Linked DNA regions of Homo sapiens: region 1 is linked to region 2. The links are contacts of gene promoters, found by promoter capture Hi-C in human tissues and cell types (Jung and others, 2019). All regions are on one chromosome and are shown on one strand. Each heading gives the region's core, a stretch centred on a gene start or on the middle of the fragment in contact. The rest is flanking DNA. Distances are from core to core; before and after follow the strand shown.

The links. The method cuts DNA at HindIII sites, captures the fragments that hold promoters and counts their contacts. A contact is called where the count stands out against the background at its distance.
Region 1: a fragment that was not itself captured here is called in contact with the fragment with the promoter of COX11 in region 2 in 1 of the 25 tissues and cell types used here (mesenchymal stem cells).

What each region holds. Positions count from the first base shown.
Region 1 is chr17:55,153,339-55,158,722 of GRCh38, reverse strand. All of the region lies in intron 17 of STXBP4 (syntaxin binding protein 4), which reads right to left. Among named protein-coding and RNA genes, the nearest start is that of HLF, 110 kb to the left of the region's middle. The HindIII fragment of the contact is 4,308 bases long and covers 276-4,583 here.
Region 2 is chr17:54,965,407-54,970,162 of GRCh38, reverse strand. COX11 (cytochrome c oxidase copper chaperone COX11) reads left to right here and starts at 1,509. Exons shown (of 4, transcript NM_004375.5): 1 at 1,509-1,882. The coding sequence starts at 1,517. STXBP4 (syntaxin binding protein 4) reads right to left here and starts at 1,398. Exons shown (of 18, transcript NM_178509.6): 1 at 1,348-1,398. RefSeq lists enhancers at 1,081-1,130, 1,211-1,310, 541-1,489, 1,491-1,570, 1,581-1,640 and 1 more. The HindIII fragment of the contact is 12,807 bases long and covers 1-4,756 here.

The DNA.
Region 1 (5,384 bases), core at 1,180-3,679, 190 kb before region 2:
TGACCAGCATCCTGAAAAGTGTTTCAGGGAAATAACACAAGCAGAGATGAGAAAGGAAGTACAAAAGATATTGGGTATGTCTAGGAAATGGTGACACATCACGAAATCATGCTCTTAACCTGGTGGATGGTATTTCTTACACTTAGTGTCCTACTCCCAGCCTTTGGCTGGATGAATCTCCTAAATCCACCACCATCTTCCCAACTCTGGAGTGCACGAATTAGGACAAGGATTTGTTTCTTCTCCTTGGACACTCTTTCTAGCCCTGGTTTACCCCACTGCCTTTATCCACCCTAGATCAGTTTCCCTAGCCTTCGTCCTCCCCAAACTCAACCTCAGAAGCAGCATCATGTCTTAGATCAAGTGCATCTGAAGGCCAGTACTTACAACGATTACTTAAGATTGTGGATCTGAAAGTGCCTCCTACATTATAAAGTAACATTTTCCAAAGTATGTTCCCGAGAGTTTTAAATAAATGTTATGTGAAGAATAGCCTGGCACAGTGGCTCATGCCTGTAATCCCAGTTACTGACTTGGGAGGCTAATATGGGAGGACTGCTTGAACTCAGAAGTTTGAGGCTGCAGTGAGGTATGATCCACTACATTCCAGCCTGGGTGACAGAACAAGACCCTGTCTCAATCAATCATCAATCAATTAATCAATGTTATGTGAAGAATATAATTCTACAGTCAAATAAGTTTGACATAATTGAATAGGTTTCTTTACTATAAGATTTCCCAGAGATTTTAATATGCTAATGTGCTCTATGAGTCTCCAAGACTATGTAATATTACTCAAAGTAACATATCTCCGTTAACAAACACAGGGCCAGTGTTCCATAGAACACAATTTGGGAACTATCACAAAAATGCATTCACTTTATTGGCTACTGATTACAATACTGAAAATGTTAGGTAGTACAAATGGTAAGTTCCACTGTTATTATTAGTTTGGTTTGTTTTCAATCCTATAGTATACATTTTGTTCATGTTCCCCCTACACAAATTGTTCAGCTCCTCTGTTTAAATATTAAAAATGTATCTTTTCATGGAAGAAGATTACTAGCGGTTTTATTATGGCATAAAAAGGGTTCAAGTTCTTTAAGAATCAAGGTGAAAGTGACAAGGCCCAGGCATCTTCACAGCTTCAAAAGCTCAGAGTGTGGTTTAGTGTACAAAGAATCATTATTCTCTTGACGATAATCCACATTACTAATATCTCTTTAAAATGGTTTAATGGAATTTCTTATTATGGAGGCTAAATTTACTAAAGTATTTGATTCGGCACAGGTTAACTTCATTTCAAGGCCTTTATAAAGCTGGAGAGCTGCCTAACTTGAAAGTGGTTTTAAAGAAATACTAATGAGTGTAACATGAGAGGGCTGGAATGCCACTGCAAGGTGAAATGAGGACACATCACCCTGTACAAAGTACATGTCTAAAACTAAAATGGAAAAGCTTGATGAGACAGCTTTGCTTATTTTAAAATATTGGTATATATTTTAATACTTTAATGTTTATCAGCACATATTAGTCCAAAGAAGAAACCATAATTTAAATCATTTAAATTCCTCCCTCTCCTTTGAAGTTCCATAATTGGAGGAGATGGGAAGGAAGAAAAACAGGAGCAATTACCTGAGGGTAAGTTCAGGTAGTATGCTTTGCTATGTGACTTTTTATAAATAGTATTCTCATGCTTGACATATTACAACTGTCCATATATGAACATTCCATTAAATTGCTAATTTAAAATAATCAAAAGGAAAATGTCTAAGAAAAAAACGTAGTTATAGACTCTGAACGGTGAATATCAGAAAGTTCTACCAGATGGTCATCTTTGCCAGTAACCTTCATTAAGCACTTTTTAATCAACAAATCACATCTGATCTTACTCCAAATACAAAAGTAATATAAAATTTGATTAACCTTATAACTTGATTAATCTTATATTCACAATATGATTTTTTGTATATGCCTAAAAACACACACGCACACACCTAAGCATCAAATATGCAATTACAACAGCTACTCACTAGAAGAAATAAAACTAAAGCAACAGAGAGACGTGTTCTGTGCTTCAAGCACACATTTCAGACCTGGGTCTTTGTTTAAAACGTCCAGAACCAATGGGACACAGTGCTTCTGAAACTCAGGTAATGCATGTGAAGTGCCTGGCAGAGAGGAGACATTCAATAAATAATCATAGCTAGTTTTATTGATAATTAGGGATTTCTGATTATTGTAAGAAAAATTTGGAATTCTTCCTATGATGCTGGAAGGGGGCCATTTGTGTGTATACCATTCAATTTTATGTCCTAGTGAGCACTGTGGCTAAAGAGCTTTGACATAATCGGTATGATGAGATAATCCCAGATTTACTGGCTTGGAGAACATTCTAGTATTAAAAACATTTCCTCTGTGATTTGTGTGCTTGGTAATTCAGCTGATAAGAGAATAAATCAGCCCTGTTGATTGTTTAATTAATAAAGACCCCATGGTTCATAAAGGGAGATGTTGCTATAAAAAATTTAGTATAAAAAATTTAGAGGTTTGGAAAATAAATGAAGCTTACTATGGAACATGAAAATTTTCCATTTGAACAAACAGTACCTCTGGCAAATTCTCCTAAAGAGACAGTGCATCTGACCTGATTTGGAGAGCAGTCAACAGCACTTCAGATATATTTGAAAATCTCAAAAGCATAATACTATTTGCCTCTGAATGGTTGCCAAATCTGTTGTTGGAAAACAATAATATTCGATTTGGGAAGATAACAGTATTGTGTGTTTTAAAAAATAATATTAGTAAACTGAAAGACACATTTTAGAGCTTATTAAAAAACCTAAGAGAACATGCTTTATATTATTGGCATAGAAATGTAAGTGAATTATTTAAATCCCATTATAATTACCCTCCTTATGTTTCTTACCTCCTAGCTAAAGGAGCAAAATGTTTTCTTTCAAAATAAAAATTAGGACAACCTGTTAAACAAAAAGGATTTAATGACAAAAAGGGCACTTGTTCTGTAGAAATTCATTCTTATAACCGTCTGTGATGATGAAAGACATTCTTTTGTTAATCTTCCATCATAGATGGCACTATTTATACATCATTGTGAATTTGCATATACTATTTTATCATGTTTAAGATAAAGCTGTGGAATAAAGAGCCAAAAGTAATTAACTTCCAGTGTCATTTTATTGGGGGGGGGGTGATAATTGTATGCATATAGTATTTATATAAAACAGAAAACAAAGACAAATAAGTAACTATATGTTAATATAATTTGTTTCAGGCACCAGTAACTTTGAATCACTGGAAAATTTTACAACTGGGCATAAACTGCAAGTAGTAATGACAATAAAAGATTTATACTTAAAAACTAATCCCAATTGAAAACAAATGAGAAGGTAGGAACACAAGGTGAACCTTGTCAATGAGATTATTAAAAAGTAACCAAACCATGATAAAGCAGCATATAATCTTATATAAACACTGGTTATGAGAATAATTACAGATTAGTAATAGGAAGTATCTATTCTAAAATATGTTTAAGAGAAAATTGCAGGCATTTTGTTCCCACTGGTATATAAGGAGTATCCTCTTACATAATTTTGGAAATATGCCGCTAAAATCAAAATAAATATTTCTCATTAGTGAACTTTGTAAATATCACAGAACACTTTGAGCATTTTGTAATTAGGCATTTGGAAATCCAGTGAGGCTCTGATCAAATATTAGCAGGATCTCATCCAAATCTTTACAGTCTAGAGGACAAATTTTATTTTTATTATATATTTATGGTAATTTCTGTTAAAAATCATTTATCTTTTAAAATCTTAAATTCCAATTAATTAAAAATATTTAGGTCTGAGCTATCAAATCATATTATAAGAATCTAAAGCTATTGTAATATATTACTTATGTATAAAAAAATTGTTGTCACTAGACTTCTAAAAGATAAACACTGAAAAGAAAATTCCTGAGGAACAAGTATGGAAAATATTAATTACATTTTTTCAAATAATATCCACAGGCTGGATTGCTATATAGAGCTAAAACATGTCAGGTACAAAGCCAATATAATTAATTTTTCAAAGAAGGAAACAACTCTGTAGTGACAGAGTACAGCCCTGGGTAACTCTTAAAAATTGATGCTGTTTTTCATCATAATAGGACAAACAAAACAGAAAAAAACAAAGAACATGTCCTACTGACACTGATACCTATACACTGAATTATCAGATACTAATAAACAATTATATAGGATTGTATAGTTGGTATATTTGTACTTTTTCATATACCTGTTGGCAGTGTCCACCAAAAATTTATGTTCTCCATTCCATACCATAGAGTTGCTGCCAGGTGGCAGCTGCCTAGGCAGAGACTACATTTCCCAGCTCTCCTCATATCTTTATGTGAGCATGTGATTAGTTCCTGTCAATAGAAGGTAACAGAATTGATGTTTATCTTTTGTGGGTCAGGGTTTTTAAGAAGCTGGAGTGCCTTCTCTACTCTCACTCATTATCCGCCAACCGAATGTAGAGGACTCTGAGGCCATTAGGGAGGGCAGAGACATGAGATGGGAGGAGCCTGGGTCTCAACATCACTACCTGAAGAAAAGCTACACCCATCAACCAGGAATCCCTGCATTGATTTGTGAGCATGAAGTCACTGAAAGCAGATGATTTGTTATTTCAGATAGCGTCACTCTAGATCACTGTCAAGCAAGACGAGAATATTTCAAGAGGAAGCCATGACTACTACTTTCTCAATAAATATATGAACAACTTCTATAAACTAAAAGCCTATCTTTCTAAAATACAGAAAATAAGTAATAGCTATATATTTTTATGCTACTTTAAATATCAATAATCAAGACTGTCAGAATACAGATTAACGAATACTAAATTTAACTGGAAACAAGTTCATAAGACCACTGTCAACGTTTCCACGTTAAATTCCCCCTGCGAGTAGAAGTGCATAAAATGTAGAAGCTACTTTAATTTTTAGTGTTCTTATTAAAATAGAATTGTATTACAAGCCATACAGGTGTTCACTTAATTTAATCAACAAAAGAAGTTTAATAAACATCTGACTAAACATTCTTCTTAATTAACAAATTTAAAACCTTAAAAAACTAAAATTTAAAACATATTTTTCAACTAATTTATATGATTCTAATGTTATGTTTATCTATCAGAGTTAAAATGACTACACTACAAATTTTAAATATAAGCATATATATTATACTACAGAATGATTTGTAAAAATCACAAAGTTGGAAGGGACTTTGAGAGGCTCCTTATGAGACCATCTCTAATGTCTTGAAGTATTTTGTCAGTATTATTGATTCCGTCATGTATAAATGCTAAAGCCACTTG
Region 2 (4,756 bases), core at 260-2,759:
CATTTCCTACCACTTTCCACTCTGCTATGTTGGGAACACAGTGGCCTTCTTTCTGTTCTTCAATCATTCTATCTCTTTCCTTCCCCTGGGCCTTTGCTTGGCCTGGAATTGTTATTGAGTAGGTAGCTCCTTATCATCGTTCAGATCTAAACTCAAATGTCACCTCTTCAAAACGTCCTTACTTTACTACCGCTTCTCATGACTGTCAATCATACTATGTTATTACATTGTCTTCACTGCACTGATTGTTATCTGAAATTCCCTTATTTCGGTAACTGTTACTTGATTATTTTCTGAGTCCCTCAGCAGAAAGGACACTCCATCACTGAAGTGATCTCCCGACTTGTTCTGTGCTATAGTGCCAGCAGGTCGATTGGTGTCAGGCCCACAGTTGAGAGGGCAATAAATAAATAAAATGTCGAATGACTAGTTAAAATTTCTCAGGCCTCCAAGTTCCTCATCCACATAGTGGGGATAATTATACCTGCTCTGGCCATTAGAAATGGCCACGTAGCAAGTAGAAATACAGCCTAACTTTTAACTACATTCTTACTATGCCTCAGTCATCATGAAAGACGTTATATGAATATTATTCATTTACTGTTCTGATTTCCATTTTACAAGTAAGGACACCAGGTCTTAGAGGACAAGTAACTGACCTAAGGGCACAGGGCCATGGTGAGGACCCGGGTAAAAATCCAGAACCCCCTAACCTCAGAACCTGAGCTCTTAACTGCTATTTTATAGTTTCTAGAAAGATGCTTCCTTCTAACACAGTAAAATCCGCTATGCTGTCTGCCCCCCTCGAGTTCGTCCTGTGGGACAACTGAAGAAAGCTATTACATCCTCCCACGGGGTTCGTTTCTTTCAGTCTCTCCTTAAATGGCCCTCCTATCCTGGTCACTCTCTCCAGAACAAACTTCAGCGTGACAGCCTCCCTCCTGCTCCAGCTGTGGTGCTTTCCACTGGGCAAGTTGTAAGGGGCATCAGAGCAGGGGAAGCCGACTGCCCACGGGCTGAGAAAATGCAGGTGTCGTGGGTGCCCATGAGGGCTGCGGTTAACACAGCAAGGCTTCCTGAGAGAGGTGATACTTGAACTAAGTCCAGGGCAGTGAGCACAGGAGCCAGCGGCCAAGGGACCCCAGGAGAAAAGACCGCGGGAGAGCGTCGCCGGGGCTGCCGGGTCGAGACAAAGGCTGGTGGAGTTTAAATAAAGATCACAGGCGCAACCCCAAGTGATGGCAAGCTTGCACGCGGACGGGCGAAACGCATTTTCCTAAATGTTAAGAGACGTTCTGGCGAGAAGCGAAGTGGGAGTAACAGTCACAAAGCAAAACGCAAACTTACCCGTAATCTGGCAACCCGGCCTCCGTAGCCCGACTGCAAGCGCTGCCACCTGAGGAGCCTGGTAGCCAAGGCAGCGGCAGGCTCAACCCAGATCTCGCGAGACGGAGCACGCCTCGCGAGATTTGACCTCTCGTCCCTGAGAGGCGGGTGGGTGTTAGTTCAGAGGGTTATGGGAGGGCTCTGGCGTCCTGGATGGAGGTGCGTTCCTTTCTGTGGCTGGCGCTGGATCCACCCTGGGTCTCCAACCAGGGCTGCAGAGAGGGTAGAGCCGTTTCTTAGGCCAGAGTGGAGTGGGACAGGAGGTGCCGAGAGAGGACTGAGGTGGCTTGGGACATGGAAGCGCTGCAGCCTTCGAGCCCGGCATCCAGCATTGCAGCCGCCGCGGCGGCCTAAGAGCTCGAACCCTTTCACACGCGCGCAGGAGGAGGAGCGGCGGCGGCAGAACAAGACGACCCTCACTTACGTGGCCGCTGTCGCCGTGGGCATGCTGGGGGCGTCCTACGCTGCCGTACCCCTTTATCGGCTCTATTGCCAGGTAGGGGCCGGCGCCGCCCGCAGGGTGGCGCAGACGCGAGAGGTGGGGGTGCAAGACAAATCCCGGGACAAGCCCTCGCTCTGCGGGTCGTAGGTGGAAGAGGTTTCCGATATTATCTACCTAAGAGGAGAGAGGTTCAAAACAGTCACTTAACACCCAAAGTCACCAAAGAAATTGGTGACAAAACTGCAAGTAGCATCCAGTTCTTAGTGATTGTGCTTATACCATGCTGCAGAGTGAAACCCCTGATCTATGAACTGCACCTCGCCAAAAAAAAAAAAAAAGGTCCGCAGCCTCTAACCGGGTATCTAGCAGTCTGCCTTACCCTCCTGCGCACACACGCTTTTAAAATGTATTATTCATACATTCACTCTGCAAACCACATGTGGTTTATGTGCCAAGGGTAACTCTGGAAATTGGACTACTCGTGTTTCTTGGGCTTAAACTGGGATTAGCAGTTCCTCCGTACAAAGAGGCATGAATTAGGCCTTTGAGGCTCTCTCGCCCCACCCCTGTTAATATATAACTGTAATGTACTTAACCTGGAAACTGTTAAGTACATTGCAACGGTTCTGGGAGTGTGGCGCCCAGGACCGGCAGCATCAGCATCACCCGGGAACCTGTTAAAAGTGCAAATTCTAGGGCCCGACTCCAGGACTGAGTCAGAAACACGGGGTGGGGGGGTGGGGCGGGGAGAAGAAGGGGAGTGGGACCAGCACTCTATATTTTAGTTAAGTCCTGTAGTTGATTTTGAGGGCAAGTTTTGAGAACCACAGGCAAAGACAAGTTTCACGTATTTTAGAGATTTCTCCTTTGTTCTTAGCTAATAATTTGCAGCTTTGGCTGGCCATTAGGATCACCTATGGAGCTTAACGTTAAATACACGTTCCAGGGATCCCCTACCCCAGAGATTCTGGTTAGGAAGTCTAGGGTAGGGACAGGAATTTCGGTTTAAAAATCATGCCACAAGTGATTCAGTAAGTGTTTAAGATAGTGGCTCCCAAAATTCATTGTACAGCAACATTGGGAATCACCTGGACAGCTTCTAAAAATCCACACACATTACCCATTTTATCACAAGGCCACAGTGGGAACCAGGCATCAGTAATTGTCAAGTATGTTTTAGGTGATTCCAGCGTGCAGGAAAGTTTGGGAATTGTTTTTTTAACACCATGACTGGTATTCTTAGCTGGAGTTCACTCTTTCCGTGTGTGTGTGTGTGTGTGTGTGTGTGTGTGCGCGCGCGCGCACGTTTATTTATTTAAATTTGTAGAGACGAGGTCTCCCTATGTTGCTCAGGCTGGTCTCAACTCCTGGGCTCAAGTGACCCTCCTGCCTTGGCCTCCCAAAGTGCTGGGATTACAGGCGTGAGCCACCATGCCCGTGGAAATCAATTTACCTTTCTTTTAGATGATGAAGCAGAAGACAAAAGGACTTTTCTTTTCTGGCATAGTCTCCTAATGCCAGCATTTATGTGGGAATGTGCAATAGTTGATTTTGAGGATGAGTATAGAATGTGAATTACTTTTCATCAGAGACCAAGCCCAAGCATGAATTCTAAAACTACCAGTTGGTTAAATCATAAGCAGAACTGAATCCAAATCAGCAAATCTAGATCCTTCTCAGACCGCCAGGAGATTTTTGCCCCTCAGGGAACATTTAGCGATGTGTGAAGACATTTTTGGTTGTCACAACATGGAGGTGGGGGTATAGGGTGCTACTGGCATCTAATAGGTAGAGGCTAGGAATGCTACTAAATAACCAACAAAGCACTGCCTCACCCCCAAACAACAAAAAATTATTCAGCCCAAAATGTCCATAGTTCTAAGATTGAGAAACCCTGCCCCAAACTGAAATAACTGATAATATTGCGTGTGAAATGTGCCCACATGCAATCATAGATCAGGAAGCCAAATGTAATTTGTAATCTATCAGGTTCTTAGAGCTAGTAGCACAACTAGAATAGAGACCAGGACATCTTTTTAGTGCTGTTTTCTAGTCTTTTTGTCTATTTTACTTTAGGCATTGAACTTAGAAATTTGAACCCATATTCAAAGACTATATTGGAATCTTTATTGAGGGAGGACACTTAAAAGTATTTTTATTTAAGTGACTTAAATTTTTTAGTAAAAGAAGTTACATCTTAAACACAGCACTCAGGCAGAAGGATAAACAAGGATAAAGGCTTGCCCTCTGATGCATCTTTTAGGGATATAATGTAATTCAGTAATGTTGCATGGCAGTCAAATGAAGTTAGTTGACTTGCGTAACAAACAGAGAATGCTAAAACACTGTATCTTGCTGGGAGTCTTCCCCTAGCCTCAAATTTGTTTTTTGTTTTTTCTTCCTAGCATAGTAACAGGCAAATTATCCAGAAATCAGAATTCTGGCAACCTCAAGTATCAGAAGAAAGATGACCTTGGAAGTAAGGGCGTTTTTTTTTTTCTTTTGAGATGGAGTCTTGCTCTGTTGCCCAGGCTGGAGTGCAGTGGTGTGATCTCGGCTCACTGCAACCTCCGCCTCCCGGGTTCAAGCAATTCTTCTGCCTCAGCCTCCCGAGTAGACCTGGGACTACAGGCGCGTGTCACCACACCCGGCTAATTTTTTTCTATTTTTAATAGAGACGGGGGTTCACTGTGTTAGCCAGGATGGTCTCCATCTCCTGACCTCATGATCCGCCCCCCGTGGCTTCCCAAAGTGCTGGGTAAGGGCTTTTTTTAAAAGTGATGTCAAGGAAATAACTGTCATGAATAAAAGAAATGTCAGACATAAATACTCTTGATGCCCTATGATTATTTCTGTGGCCATAGGGATTAGGTGCTCTGATTAGTGATTTATATAAAAGCTCTACTATACAGAGAAGTACAGAAAAGA